Regions from separate parts of the Homo sapiens genome. Here region 1 is linked to region 2. Evidence: promoter capture Hi-C in human tissues and cell types (Jung and others, 2019). All regions are on one chromosome and are shown on one strand. The core of a region is centred on a gene start or on the middle of the fragment in contact, and the rest is flanking DNA. Distances in the headings are between cores, read along the strand shown.

Region 1 (4,224 bases), core at 187-2,686, 96 kb before region 2:
CCTGACCTCAGGTGATCCTCCCACCTCGGCCTCCCAAAGTGCTGGGATTACAGGCGTGAACCACCGCGCACAGCCTACATTTTTAAAAGATTTCTTTGGTTTCCGTGAGGAGAATGGACTGTAGGTGAGAAGGAGAGGAAGCTATGAGACTAGAGAGCAGGCTGTTGAAAAATGTGGCTTTAGCCGGGAGCGGTGGCTCATGCCTGTAATCCCAGCACTTTGGGAGGCTGATGCAGGCGGATCACTTGAGGTCAGGAGTTCGAGGCCAGCCTGGCCAACATGGCGAAACTCATCTCTACATCTAATACAAAAATTAGGCGGGCATGGTGGTGGGTGCCTGTAATCCCAGCTACTCCAGAGGCTGAGGCAGGAGAATCTCTTGAACTCAGGAGACGGAGGTTGCAGTGAGCCAAGATTTCAGCACTGCACTCCAGCCTGGGTGACAGAGTGAAATTGTGTAATATATATATGTGTGTGTGTGTATATATATATATACACACATGTATATATGTATGTGTATATATGTGTATATATACACATACATACATATATATGTACATATATACACATATACACACATCTGTATGTATACACATACACACACATCTGTATGTATGTATACACATATATACATATATGTATATATGTATAAAATATAAAGTATACACATGTATAAAGTAAATGTCCATTTTATATATTTATATATATAAATATATGTATTTATGTTTATAAATGTATATATATTTATATTTATAAACGTATATATACTTATAAATGTATATATATTTATACTTATAAATGTATATATATTTATACTTGTAAATGTATATATATTTATACTTGTAAATGTATATATTTATACTTGTAAATGTATATATATTTATACTTGTAAATGTATATATGTGTGTGCGTGTGTGTGTGTGTGTATACATATATTATATATATATGGTGGCTTTACTGATTAGTCTTAGTTTTCTAATCTGCAAAATGGGGACATTATTACCCATCTCAGAATGTGATCGTGAGAATGTATCTTCCAATGTACTTAGGGTGCTAACAGGAATAATGATGACAATAACAGTGATAATAGCTGGCATTTATTGAGTGTTTTCTGTGTGCCAATCTCTATGCTCATGGCCTTTCATGCATGCTCATTTTATTTTATTTTTGAAACGAAGTCTTACTCTGTCACCCAGGGTAGAATGCAGTGGCATGATCTCCGTTCACTGCAACCTCTGCCTCCTGGGTTCAAGCGATTCTCCTGCCTCACCCTCCAGAGTATAGAGTAGCTGGGAGGACAAGCATGCACCACCACACCTGGCTAATATTTTTGTAGGCTGGTCTTGAACTCCTGACCTCAGGTGATCCACCTGCCTCGGCCTCCCAAAATTCTGGGATTACAGGCATGAGCCACCATGCCTGCCCTAATTTTTCTGATTTTTTTTTTTTTTTGTAGAGATAGGGTCTCGCTATGTTGCCCAGGCTGATGTTGAACTCCTGGGCTCAAGCGATCCTCCTGTCTCAGCCTCCCAAAGTGCTGGGATTACAGGCTTGAGCCATTGCGCCCTGCATGCATGCTCATTTTAATCTTCACACTATTTTAGGAGTTAGGTTTCGCCAAGGGAAATAATTTATAACCCAGCTGGGGAGGGCCAGAGCCAGGATTTAAACCCAGGGAATCTGATGTCACACTTCTTCCTCCAAACACAGAAGTTATGTTCTTAGGGATCAGGGAGAGCAGATTCTTTGGGATGTTCCCAGGAGCCTTCTTGGAGCAGGGGGATTTAGATGGGCTGTTCAAAACCTCTTGCACCAGCCTTGGCCTTCACAGAGCCTTCATTGTCGTTGGGTGTGTCTTTCTTTGAGAAGGCCCCAAATACACTTTCATCTGGAATTATCCAACAGTGAAACTAGGATGATTATCGCCTTGCTAAATGTTCCTTAGCATCACAAAATGACTCACTCTGTGGTCGGGAAAGAAACAAGCTATCCCAGCATCTGGAGGGTGGATCGCACTGCCATTTGGAACAAAGTCTGGCAAAGGGAGGCTCACTTTAGAGCAGGGATTGTTGACCTGGGCGCTATTGACGTTTTGGGCTAGATCGTTCTCTGTCGAGCGGGTTCTGTCCTGTGTACTACATGGTGTTTAGCGGCATCCCTGATTTCTACCCACCAGATACAAGTAGCATGCCCCTCTTCTCCAATCATGACAATAAAAGATGTCTTCTGGCCAGTGTGGTGGCTCACACCTGTAATTCCAGCATTTTGGGAGGCCAAGGTGAGAGGATTGCTTCAAGCCCAGGAGTTTGAGACTAGCCTGAACAATGTAGTGAGACCCCATTCCTTAAAAAACATGTTTTGGCTGGGCACGGTGGCTCACGCCTGTAATCGCAGCGCTTTGGGAGTCCAAGGCAGGTGGATCCCTGAGGTCAGGAGTTCGAAACCAGCCTGGCCAACATGGTGAAACCCCATCTCTACTAGAAATACAAAAATTAGCTGGGTGTGGTGGTGGACGCCTGTAGTCCCAGCTACTCAGAAGGCTGAGGCAGGAGAATCACTTGAACCTGAGAGGTGGAGGCTGCAGTGAGCTGAGACAGCACCACTGCACTCCAGCCTGGGTGACAGAGTGAGACTCCATCTCAAAAAAAAAAAAAAAAGAAAAAGAAAAAAACATTGTAATGAACTATTTAGAACTTGGAGCGAAGTATAGATTGGTAATGAAAAAAATGCAATGAACTATTTAAAGCTTAAAGTACTTGCATATAGATACCCCTCTTCACACTCCAGAGATTCCAAATGTTAACATTTGGCCATATTTGACTTAGTTTTTTTTCTTTATTTTTTTTTTAGGTAAGAAAGGAAATGAAGTATTATGGTTGACACTTTTTTTTTTTTTTTTTTTTTTGAGACGGAGTCTTGCTCTGTCGCCCAGGCTGTAGTGCAATGGTGCGATCTTGGCTCACTGTAACCTCCACCTCCCAGGTTCAAGCGATTCTCCTGCCTCAGCCGCCCAAGTAGTTGGGATTACAGGTGCCCACCACACCTGGCTAATTTTTGTATTTTTAGTAGAGACTGGGTTTCGCCATGTTGGTCAGGCTGGTCTTAAACTCCTGACCTCAAGTAATCCACCCACCTTGGCCTCCCAAAGTGCTGGGATTACAGGCGTGAGCCACCATGCCCAGTCTACTCTCTTTGAATCCCATCTCCATCCTATTCGCTTCCCCTTTCCTTCCCCAGAGGTAGCACCAGGCAGCCTAATATTGTTGTGTAGGTGACTATGTTTTCACTAGGTTACAACATCTAATAAACAAACTAACAGTCAACAAGGAAGAAAACCAACAGCCTTAACCCTCAGGGGCAGGTGGAATGAGTTTTCATAAAGCCAGATTTATTTCGTTTAAAAGACCGGCTTTGCTTCTGAGAGCAGGACATTCTGACTTTATTTATATTAAAATGTCCTTCCAAGTAAGAAAGGTGGTAATAGTGAGAGATAGCTATTTTTTAAATGTCCCATTTGGCAAAAAAAAAAAAAAAAAAAAAAAAAATCCAATCATAGGATGACGGAGAAATAACTTGCAGCATGTTTAGGCGGTGATGGAAAGGAAGGAAACTGAGCTACGTGTATCAACATGGATTCATCTCAAAGCTAATATCAATGAAGCAAAAGCCAGCTGGGGGAAGCATTTGGGCTGGATGATGCTACTTACATAAAAGTTTAAAATGGGAAAACAATGTCACATATTTAGGGCAGGGTTTTCAAACTTTTTGGGGGCCGCAATGTGCTTTAAGAAAGATATTTTAGGCGGGGCATGGTGGCTCATGCCTGTAACCCCAGCATTTTGGGAGGCCAAGGCAGGCAGATCATTTGAGGTCAGGAGTTTGATACCAGCCTGGCCAACATGGTGAAAACTGTCTCTATGAAAAATACAAAAAATTAGCTGGCACACACCTGTAATCCCAGCTACTCAGGAAGCTGAGGCAGGAGAATTGCTGGAACCTGGGAGACAGAGGTTGTGGTGAGCCAAGATCCTGGCCACTGCACTCCAGCGTAGGTGACAAAGCTAGACTCTGTCTCAAAAAAAAAAGAAAGGAAAAAAAAAGATTTTAGGCTGGGCACGGTGGCTCATACTTGTAATCCCAGCACTTTGGGAGGCCGAGATGGGAGAATGGCTTGAGGCCAGGAATTTGAGACAGGCTGGTCACAATAGTGAGATTCCATCCCTA
Region 2 (4,013 bases), core at 1,382-3,881:
TATGATCAGGGTGCCAGCCACATTGTTCTGTAATTCTCCCTAGGCTCCTCCCTCCATCGTGTGTTAGCCTTGATCTCACACTGGCTTCCCTCATAGTTGCCAGAGGGCTGTCAGCAACATGAGGGGCAACATGCTTTCTTGTTTGCATCCATAAGGGTAGAAAAGCATCTCCCTCTACCCCAAGTTCTTCCTTTCTGTCTGATAGGCCACTGTCAGTTGCACGCCTATTCCTGGACCAGTAGAAGTTTCTGGGAGAATGCTATGCACTAATTGGCTTAAACTTAGATTCCCAGTCATTGGCAAGGAGGTGATGGGATGGCTGTGATTTGCTAACACTAATGGAGATCTACCTTGGAGGTGTGTGTAAAACTCAACTGCTCCTGGTTACATAGGCTCAATGGGGAAGGACTGTTACCTGAACAAATTGGGATTGGCTGGGAAGAAGGAAAGGGAAACAGATGAGGAGGCCAAAGAAAAAAATTCATTTTGAGATAGTTCGAGTGGGTTTCTGATTTTTGTAACCAAAGAGTCACTTGGACTGTCAGTTTTCTGGTCTGCGTCCAAATGCCTCTGCCTGGTCCCTCTGCGGCTTGGCTCTAATTTCCTCCTGTGTTCTGGAGGCTCTGCTGTCGCCAACATTTCCCACCGCTGGCTCATCGCTTTGGCAAGCTGGCATCTCACCCTGCTCCAAGTCCCGCTGATAAAGCAGAAGGTCCCTTTAGCAGAATCGATTCTGACATGTTCTAATTAAAAAAGCCTGATACGTCTCTGCATGGCGGCTGCTGAGAGCTGCGCCCATAAAGACAAAGAGAGTAAATTCGTCGGAGGAAGGTCTATTTTTAACAAGTCCTGAACCTAATTGAACTTAATCATTTTTCAGTCGTTGACACTTGAAATGTGTGAGTCATTGGGCTCTGCATGGAGCTGAGTGCTGGAGCAGCCCTTTAAATATCAGAGATGGGAGATATCAGCTTGCAGGGCTGCTCAGATTTGGGGCTGTGGTTTCAGTCAGGGTGTGGAAAAGCGTGGGGCTCCAGAGACAGGGAGCCTTGGGTTCAAATCCTGGCTGCTCCACTGACTGCAAAACTCGGTTTCTCTAAGTCTGTTTCCCCATCTGTAAAATGAGGATGGTCAAGTGTATCCAAAACACTTCATATGAATCATTTGGAGGCAAGGCCTGACATGTAGCTGTTCATAATCTATCCTTATCTTACTTGACATGAATATTGATGTTTCCTTGCAGAAACAGTAATTCGTTTGATCTGGACTGTGTGGCCCGAACCCTGTATGTAATATACTGTCCCACTGACTTCCCTCATGGTTACAACGTGGCTGCCAGCAACATTAGGGGCAACATACTCCCTTGCGTACCATATTATCTTTCTGAAACCAAAAACATGGTAAGTTCTTTTTTTTTTTTTTGAAACGGAGTCTCACTCTGTCACCCAGGCTGGAGTGAGTGTGATCTTGGCTCACGGCAACCTTTGCCTCCTGGGTTCAAGCAATTCTCCTGCCCTAGCCTCCCGAGTAGCAGAGACTACAGGCACCCACCGGGTGTGTGCCACCATGCCGGGCTAAATTTGTTATATTTTTAGTAGAAATACAAAAAAAAAAAAAAAAAAAAAAGAAATACACAGGGTTTCACCATGTTGGCCAGGCTGGTCTTGAGCTCCTGACCTTAAATGATCTACCTGCCTCAGCCTCCCAAAGTGCTAGGATTATAGGCATGAGCCAGCGCACCTGGCCTCCAAAATATGGTAAGTTCTAAAACACACATCCTGTCCCAAGAATTTACGGATGAAGTGGAGACCTTAGCAGGGCTGAGCTACTACAATCCACTCAGGGGGCTAGGAGTTAAAGTGGAAATCACATGGAATCAAAATTACTGTAGAAAACAGGTACCCCCAATAATTTTCCATTAATTCTGTGATTGTTTCTAGAGCTTAGCCCCAGAGAAAGTAGTTGACTTGTGTTTCAGGGCCGATTGTATGAAAAATGTGTATCTTTAAACCACTAAACTCCGTTAGGGCAGTGAAAAGCTCACTTGCCTGGATCACACTTGGGTTCCCGTGTTATGCTCACAGTGGGTGGGGGTCAGGTGGATGTTCTGAAGAAAATTCTCCTGCACTGATGAAGTTATTTTTCTCATGAAATATCTCTTTCCCCCCCCGCCCCAACATTTTTTTTTAATTTATTTTTACTTTATTTTATTTTTCAGAGTAGAAAAAACTGGGCTCCTTTGAGTTAGCTGCGTGTGAAGTCTGTACCTAGCAGGGCTGCTGTGAGCATGAGTGTAGGTGTAGGCTAAGAAGACGGTGAATGGGGTGTGAGTGGGGCGAGGTGGACCAGCGATTGCATGGCGTTGGCCGAGGGAGGGGCTAAGACTGTTGATTGACTCAAGAAGTCACTTAGCGTCATGAGGGTCCGGGTAGTCTGGTAAGGGGTCGCTGGAGAGTGTGTCGCCCCTCTCCCCCAACCAAAAGCTTCCCTCCAACCAGCTGCTCTTGTCCTCTCCTCCCGAGGGCCCTGTGCCCTCCCAGCGGACTTGCAGGGGAGAACGTCCATGTTTGTGCGAGTCACAAAGGCGCCCGTTCCAGGGGTCCCAGAACGCCCGGGCGTGGGGCTGGGGGTGTGGCGCAGCGAGGCCGCGCAGCAAGCAGTCCTCCCGGCACCGTCGGAAGCGCAGTTGCAGCAGCCGTCGGACAAGCGGCCGGAGCAGCCACGGACAAGCAGTCCGGGCCCCGCCACTGGTAAGTTTCGCCGCCCGCCCGGCCGCGCCTGCTGCGCCACAGCTCCCCCTGCCAGGGAAAAGGAAAGAGCGGTCGCGGTCCCCAGTCCATTCATATCTCGCTGCCCTAAGCGTTGAAAGTATCAGGGTCTCCCGCAATCATGCATAAATAAATTGTAGTGTGTAAAATAACTCCAGAGCCGCGCGAGGTGGCTCATGCCTGTAATTCTAGCACTTTGGGAGGCTGAGGCAAGAGGATCGCTTGAGCCCAGGGGTTCGAGACCAGCTCGGGCAAATTCGTCTTTACAAAATATTTAAAAACTTAGCCGGGCGTGGTGGTGCCACCTGTAGTCCCAGCTTCTTGGGAGGCTGAAGGGGGAGGATCGCTTAAGCCCGGGAAGGTTGAGGCTGCAGTGAGCCGAGATTGAACCACTGCACGCTAGCCTGGGTGACAGAGAGAGAGAGAGACGCTCTCAAAAAAGGAAAAAAAAAAAGTTCAACAAATTTTTATTTTCCTCCCATAATAATCCTTAAAAAACAAAAAACAAAACAAACAAACAAAAAACAAGAAAAACAACAACAACAACAAAAAACTGTGTATGTGTTTCTGTGCTCCTGTTTGGCTAGTGCCCTAAGCACATGTTTAATTCCAGGTTGTGCAGCCCTGGCTCAATATGATCCACATAGCTGCCTGTCCCAAGGTCCCTAGGGAATCCTTCGGGGGCAGGCTTGTCTTTTAAAGGCAGGTTGTTAAAATTCAGAAGCAGATGAGGTGCAGGCCTAATTAGATATTAGATAAATGAAGATGATCTCTGCCTGGAGGAAACTTCATTCATTCAAACTGTATTTGCCAAGAGCTGCCCATGCGCCCAGGACTATGGATGCTGTGGTGAATAGACTGAGGCCCAAGGGGCAGGAGGCCCTTGCCTGACGTCCCCTGACCTGGGCTGCTGGGCTTCTCTGCACTTTTCCTCGCACACGCTGTTCCCCAGAAGTGGGCAGCTTTTAGATTCCTAACAGGAACTGCAAATTCAAATTCCTACTGGCTCTAGGCAGTTACAGAAAATGTGAGAATTGTGGGGAGGGGAGCTTAGCCAATAGGGAGGAGTGGGGCCTGTGGCCAGGAGAGTGAGTGCATGACCCACATTTATGTTTTGAAACACTGTGGAACAGAACTGGAGGTAGGTTGAATTGGCCCCATGGACTATGAGTTTCAGACCCTTGAATGAGAGGGTGGTAAGCCAGGGGTCAGGACATCCAGGAGATGCTCTGCAGGCCAAGCTAT

The links. Contacts are between HindIII fragments. The study calls those that stand out against the background at their distance.
Region 1: a fragment that was not itself captured here is called in contact with the fragment with the promoter of CCDC63 in region 2 in 5 of the 25 tissues and cell types used here (dorsolateral prefrontal cortex, hippocampus, lymphoblastoid cells and 2 more).

Annotation. Positions count from the first base shown.
Region 1 is chr12:110,749,333-110,753,556 of GRCh38, forward strand. No RefSeq gene overlaps it. Among named protein-coding and RNA genes, the nearest start is that of PPP1CC, 8.6 kb to the left of the region's middle. The HindIII fragment of the contact is 5,871 bases long and covers 1-4,224 here.
Region 2 is chr12:110,844,356-110,848,368 of GRCh38, forward strand. It overlaps CCDC63 (coiled-coil domain containing 63), which reads left to right and starts at 2,632. Exons shown (of 12, transcript NM_152591.3): 1 at 2,632-2,750. The HindIII fragment of the contact is 19,678 bases long and covers 1-4,013 here.